2 separate regions of the Homo sapiens genome follow, and region 2 is linked to region 1. Evidence: promoter capture Hi-C in human tissues and cell types (Jung and others, 2019). All regions are on one chromosome and are shown on one strand. Each heading gives the region's core, a stretch centred on a gene start or on the middle of the fragment in contact. The rest is flanking DNA. Distances are from core to core; before and after follow the strand shown. Region 1 holds the start of RNPEPL1 (arginyl aminopeptidase like 1). Region 2 overlaps KIF1A (kinesin family member 1A).

Region 1 (6,815 bases), core at 1,976-4,475:
GGTCACCCCCCCGGCAAACCTCTCATCTGCACCAAAGCTGTTGAGGCTTTCCTCACCCCTAGATGCCGAGGCCAGGCCCCAGCCCCACTGAGAAGCCTGCACACCCGGGGCCCTCCTGCCACTATCCTGCTGCACCCGTCTCATCTTCCTTCCAGGAATTCTGACCTCTCCAGTGAGGGCAGCTCAGAGTCTGGGAGGGGGACCCTCTTCCAACCACAGCCACATCACCTTCGTCCCAAGTCAGCCCTGCACGTCGTATCCACCCTCCCCTCTGCCGGAATGAGATAGTCAAGGCAAACTGAATTGCTCTTCGTGCAGAGGCCCTCCCATGACCATGAGTAGAAGGTGCCCCCAACATGCTTCTAAGACTGGACAAGTGGAATCCACAGCTGAGGCCTGGAGGATCCCAGACCAGGAGGGCTGCCTCCCCCGCAGTCCCGGCCAGACCCCTGCCAGCATTCTCAGATCTCTTCCAAACTTCCTGTTGGTGCCCTGGCCCTGCTGGGCAGCAAGGTAGCACAGGCGTCTCCCATTCCTGCTGAGCCCTGGGCTGCCAGGGTGTTCAGGGCCCACCTGGGGAGCCATTCACAAACGCAGCCTCCCCCTTGGGGGGGGCTGGGACCTGGGAATCTGTATGAAGGAACCTCCCTGCAGGAGTCTCCCCAACCCTTCAGCCTGCACGGCCCCCTCACAACTACTCCTCTCCTGTGGCCTTGCCTCACCCTCCTGAGGCCCTTCTCAGGCTCTGCCCACTCACACCTCTCCCTACTGCCCCATGTCCACCCCACAGCCTCAGTAGCCTGGGTGTCTTCCCAGATACCAGCAGGGCCCACAGCTCCCCACTTGCCCTGAAGTGAGGGGCTGGGGCAGACCCCCAGACAGGACAGGCCCTGCCCCACAGATGGGGCACCAATCCCCGTCAGGGCACCCGGGCACAGGTGCTGATGGGCTGGTGGAAAAGGAACAAGGCTGAAGGGCTCCAGACGCTGCAGGGCAGGAAGAACGCTGTTCTTGCTGGGGTGGGGTGGGGGTGCGGGAATGGGCCCAAGCATCTGCAGCACCTCCAAAAAGCCTCTGGGGGCCTGGGGCCCACTGGCAGGGCCTCCCAGGGAGCTTCCGCTGCATCCTCCCTGGCACAGGGACAGGCTTAGGGATTTGGGCCTGAGTCCCTGGAACATGCAGGAAGAGAAGGGGACTCTACGTGTGGCCCCAGCCCCATGGCGCTCACATACAAAGGTGCATGCCTGAGGTTAGAGTCGAATACTCTGCCTTCTGCAAGTAGGGCGGCTCACAGGCCAGGTGACGCTAGGCCCCCTGTCCACAGCCTGCCAACCCTGACACCACGCAGACTTGGGGGACTATGCCACTCTCCCTGCCCAGAGTACCCAAGGGCCACCCAGTAGGCCATAGGAAGCCAAGAGACAATGGCCACCCTTGCTCACTGGGCCCCGTTCACAGCAGCCTGCTGAGGGCCCTGGTCCGGCCACTCTGCAGGCCAGTGTTGGGCGGACCAGACACGTGGGCTCCAAACACGGATCAAGGCCAAGGAGAAGCCCATCCCTCAGTTCTCACCTGTCATACTGGGAGGCATACTTGCCACCGGTCAGAGCCCTGGAATACCACAGCAGGGGCGGGGCCGGCTAGCCAGCGGCCTGCACACCCACAGGGGTTCTGGGAAAAAGGTGAGGTGGCAGGTCCTGCTTAGGGCTCCTGGGAAATGTACAGGAAGCCCATAGGGGTGCACTGGTCTGGGTTCTTCCTGCCCAGATGTCACCTTGGCTCTTTGTGGCCTGAAGCCTCTCGACCACCTCTCCACCACCCTGTCCATTTATGTGCCGTGACCAGTGACAGCTGGACTTCCCAGCGCCTCCACAGCTGTGTGTGTCTTGCATATGTCGGGTGTCACATGTGTGCCGTCCATACCACCTAGGGATGCAGTATGAACCCCCATGCTGTAGGCAGGAAAGGCCCTGCTCCATCCTGTACACATCCCCACTGGTGGAGGTGGAGGGGGTGCTGCAGCCACAGCGCCAGCCTCAGCCACCTGGCCTTTCTTGCAGAGTCTCTGGAGTGGTGGGTACCCAGTGTGCAAGCCCTGCAGAGCCTATGTGTGTCTATGTTGGGGTCGCGGGGCCCACTGGTCTCAACACTCCACCAGTGCTGGCCAAGGAAGCCCCAAACCGAGCATCACAATCTCCATGGCCCTTTCCTCTGCCTCTGGCTTGGACTCATCTGCACGCACTGGTCACATGGAGGCCCTTCCGCAGCTGACACTCCAGCCCAACCCTTGGTGCCAGGATCCTGCAGATGTACACCTCGGTGGGTGACAGAAGCTGCTCATGTCCCCAGGCAGGGACCAGACACCTGAACGGGAGGCTTCCCGGAGTGACATGCTGTCCCGTGTCCCCGCAGGACTCCGGCTTCTATCCGAGGGTCCTAAGGGCTCACAGGCAACAGCTGGGAATCACCGGGGTGGGGGGAGGGGGGCACCTGTAGGGCGCAGATTCGCGTCCCTCAGCCTGGCCGTGCGGCGAGAGGCCGCTAGCAGCGCCCTGCGGACCGGCCCGCAGCCCCGGCGCCCGCCCCGGACTCACGGCGGGGGCGTCGGTCGAGGTGTACCGCAGGATGACCTGGAAGGGCTGGTGCGCCTGCAGCTCGGGCGGCAGCGTGACGGTGAGCGAGGAGCCGTAGTCGGTGAACGGGTCCACCCTGAAGGCCAGCGGACAGCAGGCGGGCTCGGAGCCGGGCGCCTCGGGGAAGGCGGGCAGCGGGGGCGGCGGCGCGGGCCCCGGCCCGGGGGCGGAGAAGGCGAAGGCGCAGGGCGTCTCGGCGGCGGCGGCGGGGGCGCGACGGAAGGCGGCTGAGTGCAGGCGCAGAGCCGGGTGCGCGTCGAGCACGAGCGCGCGGGGCGCGGGCCGCAGCGCGCACAGCTCGAGCACCAGGCAGCCGGCCAACTCGCGCGCCTCGGGCCGCAGCTCCAGGCCCAGCTGCAGGTGGCGGAGGCGGAAGAGCTGCGCGCTGGAGGCCGAGGCCACGTCCAGGGCGGGCGGCGGCTCGGGCGGCGGGCGGACGGGCGCGGCCTCGGCGCCGGGCGCCTGGCGGCAGCAGCACTGCGCGGCCATGGCCGCCGGCACTAGGTGAAATCCATGGGCGGCGGCCGCGCCGGGCCGCGGGCGAGGGGCGCCGGGCGGCGGCGGCGGCGGGGCGCGGGCACAACAGGAAGTCGCGCCGGGAGCCGCCCGGCCCGGCCCCGCGCCGTGCGCCGCCCCGCTCGGGCTCCGCTCGGCCGCCGCCGGGGGCGCTGTGCGCGGGGCCGGGGCGCGGGGCCGGGGCGCCGGGCGGGGAGGGCCAGGAGCCAGGGGCGCGGGGAGCCGGGGAATCGAGCGCGGCGCGGGGCCGGGGCGCTGTGTTGGGAGCCGAGGCGCGCGGAGCGGGTGAGCAGCACCCCCAGCCCCTCGCTTCCTCCCCGGGCGGCGCCCGGGAGATCCCAGGAGGCGGGATCGCTGCTCCCTCCCAGACACTGCCGGCCAGGCCCCTGGGGCAGCCGCTGAAGGGACCCGGGAACCTTGGGGCCACAGGGGCAGGCTGCTTCCAGGTGTGGTTCGTGTTCCCGAGGAGCGCAGCGTCGCGAACTCAATGTCATCCTTTCATCCGGGGCTACGGGCAGGGCAGGATTCTCCTGGCACCCCTGCCACTCCTCCAAGTCTACAGGTGTGGTCTGTGCTGTGGGCCCTGCGGTGCGAGAAGCGCCGGAGCCTTCACGCAGCGCTGTCAACTACAGCAGCCACCAACCACGTGTGGCCATTTAGATGCGAATTAAATACAGTTAGAAGTTCAGTTCCTTCGTGGCAGGTGGAGTGAGTGAGTGTGTGTGTCTTCCTGGGAGGAGTGGCTAATGGACAAAGCAGGCAGGAATCATTTCCACAATCGCAGAAGTTCCTCTGGGCAGTGCTGGGGACCTCTCATTTGGGAGCCCTGTGCTGGGGTACGAAGGAGGGTCTGGCCCGCCTGTCCCCACCCCATCCGCCAGGTCCACCCTTCCCAACGCCATTCTCTGTGGACCTGGCGAAGGCTGCCCAAGGCTGAGCCTGTCCAGGAGCCTGAGCCCCGAGGGAAGGGGTGCTCGCCTGGCAGAAGCTGCTAGTGAGCTCACAGCGGTTAAATTTTGAGGCTGTGGAATAACAGGGGCCACCATGATGTCGCTGTTGTCATCAAGTAAGAATTCAAATTCCTAGGGACAAGGGGCTTCTGGGGCTGGGGAACTATCCAGGAACCCAGGACACCTCTCTCTTCTGCTCCATTGAGGTGTGGCCGTGCAGGGCTGGACTCGGGTACCGCACTCGACTCAGCGTCAGCCCTGAGTAGTGTTTCCTGTGTCTGGACTCAGTCTCCTCGTTGTGTAACCCTCTGTGTCTACCCTCCTTCCGTGGGGCGGGAAGGAAGGCTGAGAGGGAGAGTGTGCGTTCACGTTTGCGGGACAGAGCACTGAGGCATCATTTCAGTTTTCCCGTAGGACCTCAGGTCCCCACGTGCCCTCTTTAGGGACACGGCCACGATCTTGGGGCACCCATCCCAAACTCACCAGGAACCCCTAGGCTTACACAGTCACTCAGAGGTGTGGATCAGCCTCGCATCCAAGGCTGACAGGGAAGACAGCTGAGATGGGACCCTCCTCACTGCCCCCAGCGCCCTGCCCGGTGGGGCCCTGCAGTGCCAAGGGCAGACTGTTTTCGATGGCACCCCCAGTTCTACGGGGCTCTCCAGAGCCCACCGGGCCATGTTCCTGGCTGGAAGAACCTCAGTTCTGCACACGCGGTGCCACACTAGCTGGGCCTGGCCGTCCGGGGGGCAAGTCACCACAGGGAGCTTGGGGTCTTGCCACCCAGAGCCCCGCATTGGGCTCAGGGAGCAGAGGTTGGGGTCTCGCCCTGGGCACCTCTCCGCGGCCAGTTCTGCACACAGGAGTCCAGAGTTGCTGTGGCACCTCCTCCCCGGGGGCCCAAGGGAGCGCCTCCCACCGCGCACGTATGTGAGGAGCTGCCCTACTGCACCCCATGGAGCGGGAGGCGCGGCTGAGCCGAGGGGGCGGGGTCTGCAACTGAGCCGCGGGAGCCTCTCGCGCCGGCCCCGCCCCGCCCCGCCCCGCCCGAGGAGGCCCCGCCCCCGCCGGCCTGACGCCCCCTGGCGGCGGGAGGCTACGCCGCATGCAGGCCTGGGCAGACACCTCTGACTTCTCTAACCCTGGCAGAGGAGCCTGGACGTCGCGACTGTCAGCCCTGGCTTTCTCCCACAGGAGTTTTCATACTCCAGCTTTTTGGTGATCAGCGCAGTGAAGTGGCTGCGCGGCATCTGCACCCCAGCCTTCCCCTGATGCACCCGAGGGAGGGGTTCCTGGCTTCACCCACTAGGAGGTGGGTGTGGGCATGGAGCGTTTTAGCAGGCTGGGGAGGGCAGCAAAGCTTCCAGGAAGAAGCAGTGTTCAGACAGGGCCGCGCCCAACCCCGACAGAGGACCAGGGAGCTACCAGTTCTCAGATGGAGCTGGTGGGCTAAAAAGGTCTGATGTGACCCACAGGTGTCCTTCAACCTGGCCGGGGCCCTGCTGCCCTTGTCCCCTTGTCACCAGGGCCAGGTCAGCAGGTAAAGGGTGTGCCCTGCCCTGAGGCAAGGGCAGCCGAGGTTTTCATCAGGGTGTTGTGAGCAGGGCTGAGCCGCGGGGGAAACCGCAGACCCAGGTCCTCCCTCCTCTCCAAGCCACTGTTCCTCACCCACTAGTGGCGACCGGCGGCTGCTTCCTTCCGGGTTGATGAAAAGGTTGCATGAGTCATGAGGAGCTTATCTAGAGAGGCCAGCGGCAGGCAAGCCCTCCACAGAGATGGGGACTGCCCTGGGCACCAGCTTGTGATGGGGGCCGCGGTCCACAGCGATGGGTGGTGCCGGCTGGTGACACGGCATAGAGGGGCAGCGACCAACAAGGTGTGGCCTATGCTTGAGGCCCAGGTACACAAGGCGTGGGGAGGGAGAAGGCCCTTCTCACTACCACCCCCACGCTTGGCTGACAAAACCCGTGCTTCCCATCCCCCCAGCTTTGGGCTCTGCCGCATCAGAGATGTTCGGTCCCCAGGTGGGATGCTTTTGCTTAGGAACACAATCGGGTCTCACTGGGAGGGTGGCTCAGACACGGCCCAGCCACGGAAGCATGAGACAACACAGGGCTGGCTCTGGCAGGTGGGCATGAGGCTTTGTGAGGCTTGGGGGCCAGGAAGAGTGGTGCCTCCTACTTCTCTCTGGTGGTGCAGTACAGGTAACGGAGGCCACAGCACCTGTGTGGGCAGCCATGCAGGGCCTGGGGCCTTAAAAATGAAGGATCGAGTCATGCCACCAGGTGAAGGCCATAAGCAGCTTAGGCACTGGCTGAGGGTAGAACATGGAACGAGTATTGGAAAAGGCAGATAAGCACCAACCACAGTATTTTACTCATTGACGCATACAGAATGTAAATACGCGTAGTTGTATATATTAACCAATGACTACGTTATCTGTGATTCACATGTATTACACACATTTTCCTTTTCTTTCCCCACTCCTATTTAAGGAGTGTTGATTCTAGGATAGTCTTTAGGCCACAGGATGTCCAGGAGAGGTGGTGTCTGAACTAGAGAAGGAATCAACATGCTTGGATGCCTCCAGTGGTGGCTTATGGGGTTCCACCCTCACACGGCGGGAGAGGCAGCACCTTGTTGGCTTGACAGTAGCTATGTGACCTTAAGTTGGGGTGCAATGTTGGTGAAACAGAGATCAAAGTAGGAGAGGGGT
Region 2 (7,695 bases), core at 1,577-4,076, 140 kb before region 1:
AGCACCCCACTGGTTCTGAGGCCCCTACCCTCCCAGGCTGTCCCACGTGATGCTGACATGAGCCTCAGAGACCCCAATCCCATGCCTGGGGGAGAGACAGCGGCTCAGGAGTGGGGGAGCACGGGCCTTCTACACCACATGGGAAGGCTCTGGCATGAGGTTTTCCTTTGGGAAGGTTGTTTGGGCCCCTGAAGTTCCATCTCCGAGAGTGGTGTGCAGGGCAGGCCAGGGCCCATGCTGGCTGCAGTCTCTGTGGCTGCCTGCCTGGGCCAGCCTGTTTGGGAGCTGGGACTGTGGGCTCGCCTTTTCGTACCTGGGCTCAGGTGCGGTGTGGCCACCGCCACCCTCATCCCCTGCCTGGGAGGCTCTCCCAGGGGCTGATGGGGGGGTTCTGTGAGGGAGAATCAGGGCTCGGGAAGCCACGCCTGGGAAGGCAGGACACAGGACACAGCAGCTTTCTTTGGAAATCTCCCAGGTGAGGATTCACATCCCAAAATAAAATTCAGAAGCCAGGTGGCCTGTGCTCCCCATGGGTGACCTCTGGAGGCAGTGGACCAAGATGCAGCAAGGAGAGGATGCAGAACAGCTTCTTGCAGAAGCACCTGCTCCGGCATCCAGCGCTGCCTGGAGGCAGGAAGGAGAGGCAGGGCAGGACACGCTGGTCTGAGATGAGGGGGAGCCCCACGGGCCCCAGGCAGGCTAGAGGAGGCACAGGCCCTGCCACGGCCAACTCAGGTCAGCCAGCCTGAGGCTGTGGCCTCCAAAGGGTCTGGGCGCACCCCCCAGGTCGCAGGTGTCTGAGGCCAGCCAACCTGCAGAGCACTCGCGGCGTGGGTGGGCTGAGTGGAGGTGCCTGGGAGCTGCCTAAATTCAGAAGCCTCCACTGCCATGGAGACTGCCTGGCTGTGTCCTCTCAGCCAGGTGCCGTGTTGGCCTTGGCTAGGACCCAGAGCCACACTGCAGCCTCCGCCGACTCCCTCCTTCCGGGCCTGCTCTAGTGAGGAGTGCCTAAGCCAGGACCCAGAAACTCAGAGTTGATGGTGAGAGGAGGCCGCCTGAGTCAGGACACCTGGCTTCTTGAAAAGTTCGCTCTGCCAGAAACCACCTAGGGACCACGTTAGCTGCCTTCCTTGAGCTCCCCAGGAGTCGGTTTCCACATCTGTGAGGTGGAGGGCTGGTGTGGAGGTGCTCATGGGGTGCGGTGCTTGGGAGACAGCCAGGCCCAGGGTGGCTGCTGCTTCCTGCTAAGTGGGGGAGGTGAGACAGATCTGGAAAGCCGTCTCCCTCAGATGGTTTCATTTAATGCTTTATACTGCCGAGTCTGGGGGCTTGTTTTGGTTTGGGGGCAGCCATCCTCCACCAGAAAGGGGGAGCTCCTTCCGCTGCGGCTCCAGATAGATGGGGATGCCGGGCTCCAGGCCGACCAGCACTTGGGATCTGATGGGACACGGCCAGTGCCTAGGGGTGCCAAGTCCAAGGCCTCCCACTGGGAGTCATCGCTGAGAAGATGCCAATGTTTCATCCACCGGCTGCACAGGCACAAACTCCCCCACCCAGGACGGCTGTGATGAGGTGGCCCTCCCTGTCAACCCTGGTCCCTGGAGTCCCCAGCACCTGGGGCCCTGGTGGGGCTGATGTCACAGGTGTTTACTGTGCTGCTGCACTGGTCCTATGCCAGCCTCACCCATGTGGGGACCACGGAAGGCACACTCCCTTACCCCCGGTGCCGGGCCGTGCGGTCCCCCAGACGGACAGCAGCTGTGGCGACCTGCGTTTCTCCCTGGGCCTGTGCTTCCTGTAGTTAGTCCGTCCCCTGGTTCCCCTGTGGCTCAGAGGCCGCGTCCCTGGCTTGTACATATGTGATTGCTGTGGGCACACCCCAGACCCCATGTCATAGCTGCCGTCCCGACGTCACGACGCCTGTCCCGATGTCTTACACCCGAGTGTTAGCCCTAGGCTCCTGTACTGTGCGTGCACTTGAGGCTCTGTCCAATTAAGAAATAAATGTGGCTCTTACTCAACACAGTCCCATGGGCTCTGCTGTGGCTTTATTTGCGTGTTACGTGTGTTGCAGGGCCCCGGAAAATGGCTGTAGGTGCATGCATCCAGCGTGGTCCAGAGACAGTACCCCTCTCCCAGTGATGAGGCAGGGAGGGGCTGGCTCTCGAGGTGGGCATGGGGAGGTGGTGGGGAAGGTGTCGAAGACTGAGTGTACACAGGGTGCTGGTCTTGGAGGATCAACCTCCACCTGCCTCCCGTGACCGGTTGCACCCCTGTGAACCAGCCCCAGGCACCTCCCCAGGGACACAGCACCTACCACCCTCATACCAGGCCACTGCACCCATCCCAGGCAGCCTCAGGCCTGGACCCTTCAGAGTCTCTAGTCCATGGGGTCTGCGCCTGGGCCCAGATCCTCAGAGCCTCCTGGAGTTCCAGAGGCCGCACCATTGCACACGAGGGCCTTAGTCTTGTCCAAGGTATGGCAGGAGTTTGTGGACCAGCGTCACACTGATGGCCGATGGGAGGATGGGGTGACAGCCTTGCACTTTGGGGGACTCTGGGCAGGGCCCCCAGTCCTTAGGAGCCCCCAGGCCCTCCAGAGGTGAGTGGCTTTGTCACAGGCGACAGCCATCTCCAGGACATTCAGTGAGGGTGGCACCTGCTCGGAAGGCAACGCCTCTCAGTGGGCCTGGGAGGTGGACCCTACTGGCTGGCACGGGGGCTCCGGGGCCTTGTGTGGGGCCACCCTCTGGCTACAGGTGGGAGGGGCTGTGTCAGGGCTGACATAGATACCGTTCAACCTGTGTGGACTCCTCCTGTCTGAGAGGTCGTAGTCTTCCAGTCCTGAGATTATAGACAGAACTTTTTGCCAGCTGGGTGAAGGGCGCACACAGTTCCTCTCTGTGCTGTTTTTTTTTTTTTATAACTTCCTGTGAGCCTACCATTATTTTAAAATGAAAAATAAAGAAAAAACCTTTTTATTCATCGGATTTTCTAGTTTCTCTACAATGAATTTGTGTTACCCGTGTAATTCTTTAAAAATTAAGAGTGAGAAGCAAATCAAACCAGAATTCAGTGACTGGGCAGAATCATAGCGGCCTCCTCACTGGTTGAGGAGGATAAATGAGTTAGCTTTGGAAAAGGCGTAGGACGGGGCCTGACACAGACTAAGTGCTGTAGAAGGTTTCTGTTTTTTAAAACAATGAATGAAACTAACAAAACATTAAGTAACAATTGGCTGTGCCTTCCAGTGTTAAGGAGAAACCTGTCGCTACCTCTGCTTCCACCTGACCTTGTTCTTGGGGCCCCAGGGATGACACCCATCGTCCGAAGGTTCTGGAAGACGAGGGAGTAGAACCAGGAGTGTGGGCTGAGTGGCGCTGGGCTTTCATGGTTGGTGCCTTCCACCAGCGGTGTGACCGGGCTCTGGGACCTGGGACCACTTCTGTGTCCAGGGCAGTGCTAAGCTGGGCACGGTCATCCTGTGCCCTGTGGGGCCTGGTTCACACTCCCCAGCTGCACTCTCTCCTGGCTGGGATGGTCTTTCTGTCCATGTTGGTGCCTCAGTGCAGCCCTGGCTGGTGGTTCTCTGAGGCCTGGGAGCCATTCAGACCCTTTTGATGCCTGCAAGTCTCTGCTGCCGTCCAGCGAGGGCTGGTGGCACAGTGGACTCACACGGACAGACAGACTCACGTCTTAACTCAGCAGATGGCCACTGTCACTCCTGCACTGGGGGCGGTCCTTTAGGGGTGTCGACTAAAGCTTTCACAGCCTCCAGGATGTGTAGAGGGCAGAAAAGCCTGGAAGCCCCAGCCTTGAGGACAGAGTCCACCCCTGTGCAGACAGCCAGTGATAACCCAACCCAGTCCCCAGGGAGAGGTGGCCCGTAATGCACCTGGCTCCCTTCTGCTCCAGCCTCCTGCCCATCTTGACACCTCCTGCTGCTGCCCCAAAAGCCTGACTTGGCCCAGGGCCCCTCCTGTGTCCCCTGTGAGCTGGAGTCTGAATGCTGAGTCCAGGCCCTGGGGAGGCTCCCTAGCTCCTGCCTGTGCGGCAGATCCTGAAACTGAGGCCCAGACCCTGAGATGGTTCCAGAACCCTGGACTGAACCTCACTGGCCCATCCAGCCTGTGCTCTCCTCTCCCCAAGACCTTAAGGCTGGCTCCGTGGAGCCTGGAGCAGACCAAGCCACAGTGTGGGTGTCTGGAGGCTCACGTGTCCATTGGACGCGTTGTGTCTCTGGGGAGCTGAGCCCCGGCCTTGGGGACACCCAGACAGGATCCAGCAGATTCCTCATCCTACTGGGGTGACACCCATTGGCCAGTTAGACCCAACTGGACCCAGGGCCAGAGGGGCGCAGGCATGTCCTGTCTACAGTCCAGGACGCAGGAAGCAGGGACTTAACCCCTCACCCCCGTGGCCTTCTCCTCTCCCTACCAACCACCACCTGGAGCCCGCCAGGCCCCCAGCCAGGAGATCTTGACTTTATAGGTGTGTGGGGTGTCAGAGGATCCCACTGCACAGCAAATGGTATTTCCCAAGAAGAATTCCCATGAGCTGCCCCTCTTCCCCGCAGTGTGGGCTTCCAGGACCTGGCCTGAGAGCACCCCCCAGCTTCCTGCCTGCTCTGCACTCCACACCTTCCTCCTCTCGTGTGTGGAGTGAATTGGTGCTTTCCTGATTCTTCCAAACTGTACTTTCCAGTACAGTAAACAACAGAGCGACATGGGTCCTTACACATGAAACCATGCTCTTATCCTACTTTTGGGGACAAAGTCCTAGCTGGAATTACTGTGTGGGAGTTTATATAAATTCATATGTGCATCTTACGTGTGTGTGTGTGTGTGTGTGTGTGGCACGCGTGTGCACACATGTGCGCACACACACACACGGCTTCTGAACATAAAGCCCATCATCGTCTCACTGCATGTCTGAGTCTTTTTAGTCCTCCCCCTTTGGCAGGTGGTAAGTGGCACCTTATCATTTTTCAATTTTATTTATTAGTGTTGCTAAATTATTTTCATGTGTTTTATATATATATATATATATATATATATATATATTTTTTTTTTTTTTTTTTTTTTTTTTTTTCTGAGATGGAGTCTCACTCTGCCGCCCAGGCTGGAGTGTAGTGGTGCAATCTCAGCTCACTGCAACCTCCGCCTCCAGGGTTTAAGTGATTCTCCTGCCTCAGCTTCCCGAGTAACTGGGATTACAGGTGCCTGCCCCCTCACCTGGCTATTTTTTGGATTTTTAGTAGAGACAGAGTTTCACCGTGTTGGCCAGGATGGTCTTGAACTCCTGACCTCAAGTGACCCACCCACCTTGGCCTCCCAAAGTGCTGGGATTACAGGCGTGAGCCACCGCGCCCAGCCAGATTATTTTTATTTCTTTTGTGACTTGCCTATTATGTCTCTGGCCAAATTTTCCTCTTAATTTGCAGTCAGTTACACATATATCAGATAGCTCATTCCTTTGTCATATGTTTTAATTTTCTAACTTTGTAATTTTTCTGTTTTGATAATATTTTATTTTGCCTTATAAAATTATGTTGAATATCTTTTAAAGTCAAATATAGTTTATTTTTCAAAATTTCTAATCTTGGGCATTTTGCAGAAAAGAATTAGCCCAACAGGCTTGCACCTGCTATTCTTTAAATGTCTGCTGTGAGGTGGAGCCTCAGACGGCTTCTGGGAACTTGGCACTTGAACTGTTCCCTGAATGACAATGAGGGTTCACTGTGCCCAGACTGTACAAATACTATAGCCCTCGATGCACTTTCCTTCTGAGTCTGGAGTTTGGTGTGTTCCAGGCAGGGCATGGCCAGCTTCTGGTCAACACCACAGGCACTGAGTCTCTACTGAGCTCCCCGACGGGGAGCCCTTAATATGGACGGCCATGCAGCGTTGCTGGGAATGAAACACGTCCTGTGTTACTCTGTGGGGAGAGAGGCCTTGGAAGCACGAGCCTGGTTTTCTTCACACCACGCCCCATGCCTTTTGCACCCCATGCTTTTTCCGTTCACAGATGTGGTTTCAGAGCCTTTTGCCGTAACCAGTCTCAGCCATGGCACCACTGTATGCTAGATCCTGTGCATCCTTCCAGAAAGTCTCTGAACCAGGGATGACCTTGAGGACTTCATGATACAAGAACACACTTTGAAACTCCTTTCCCATTCATTTCACTTATCTCTAATAGTGATTTCATTTATGTCATCAAATAATTAACCTCTCTCGCATGATATGACCATGTAGAGTTTACTCTGGGAATGAAGAGGTCACTTCATATCAAGAAATCTATTAATAAAATCCATCATATCAATAGAGCTAAGAAAAAATGGTCATCACCACAGATGCAGAAAAGCTAGGAACAGAGCAGAACGGCATGCTAGCATCACCACTATTCAATGGCGTTTTGAATTACTAGCTAATTTCTTTACACAAGAGAAAGTAATCAGAGGGATAAAAACAGAGAAGGAAATGTAAAAATTATCTCTTTTGCAGATGATAGAATTACATATCTGGAAATCCCAAAAGAATCCATGGGAAAACCACAAATAGCCTGAATTTGAATCTGAAGGGTCAATATGAAGATATGATAGATTTCATTTTTCTTTAAAAAATACACATTTCCTAGTTCCATCTATTGAAAAGGCCTGGAAACAACAACCAGCTCCTTAACAGTGACACATTCCTAGAACCGAGATTGTATTGTCTAAATAGAACTTCTCTCTAACACTGGGAGAAATCACTAGTTCCAGAGCGGGGATGAGAATTGCACAAGATTATCATGAAAATCTTTTCAACAAAAACATTATCACACTCTAAGAGTTTTGCCAATAGGACCCAAAGTCATTGTCAGACTTCAAGAGTTGTGTCAAAAGGACCCAGGATCCAACTTAGAGGCTCCCACTGGCCTAAGATTGGGACACTTTGAACATCAGTAAGGCTAATAAATGTGATGACTGGAACACATGTGATATGGTTTGGCCCTGTGTGCCCACCCAGATCTCATCTTGTAGCTCCCATGATTCCCATGTGTCATGGGAGGGACCCAGTGGGAGATGACTGAATAATGGGGGCGGGTCTTTCCTGCGCTGTTCTCGTGATAGTGAATGGGTCTCACGAGATCTGATGGTTTTAAAACATGGGAGTTGCCCTACACAACCTCTCTTTTTGCCTGCTGCCATCCACGTAAGATGTGACTAGCTCCTCCTTGCCTTCTGCCACGATTGTGAGGCCTCCCCAGCCATGTGGAGCTGTAAGTCCAATAAACTTCTTTCTTTTGTAAATTGGTCAGTCACGGGTATGTCTTTATCAGCAACATGAAAACAAACGAATACAACATGTAATATGATTACATCTATTGGTTTATAATGACAATTAAAAAATAGTAAAAAAAAAATAGTTCAAAATAGCTCACTGGTAACCATCAGAGGATGCAACTCATTTCGGAAACAAGTAAATCAGGAAAAAGAAACAAGCATTATCCTGTCTTCCCTTAGAAACTGTACCTAAGCATAGCCAGGTAGCCAAGGAGCAGAGGTTTGTCTTTGCAGAAGTATTTTTCCTATAAAGGAAGAGAGAAGGTCATCCTAAAACCCCATGGCTGTGTAATCCCCAACACACGAGCAAATGAATGAATGAATGCGGCTAGGCAGTGACATCACCAAAGACACAGCAGGGCAAAATCTAC

The links. The method cuts DNA at HindIII sites, captures the fragments that hold promoters and counts their contacts. A contact is called where the count stands out against the background at its distance.
Region 2: a fragment that was not itself captured here is called in contact with the fragment with the promoter of RNPEPL1 in region 1 in 1 of the 25 tissues and cell types used here (dorsolateral prefrontal cortex).

Annotation. Positions count from the first base shown.
Region 1 is chr2:240,564,894-240,571,708 of GRCh38, reverse strand. RNPEPL1 (arginyl aminopeptidase like 1) reads right to left here and starts at 3,225. Exons shown (of 11, transcript NM_018226.6): 1 at 2,595-3,225. The coding sequence starts at 3,122. It overlaps DUSP28 (dual specificity phosphatase 28), which reads right to left. Exons shown (of 2, transcript NM_001370465.2): 2 at 6,453-6,815. RefSeq lists enhancers at 1,501-2,139, 2,089-2,268, 2,140-2,778, 6,729-6,808 and silencers at 2,539-2,588, 2,829-3,018, 3,159-3,218, 3,249-3,508, 5,019-5,258. The HindIII fragment of the contact is 6,553 bases long and covers 1,297-6,815 here.
Region 2 is chr2:240,708,097-240,715,791 of GRCh38, reverse strand. It overlaps KIF1A (kinesin family member 1A), which reads left to right. Exons shown (of 49, transcript NM_001244008.2): 49 at 1-2,025. Among named protein-coding and RNA genes, the nearest start is that of AQP12A, 20 kb to the right of the region's middle. RefSeq lists an enhancer at 3,071-3,878. The HindIII fragment of the contact is 6,199 bases long and covers 1-5,925 here.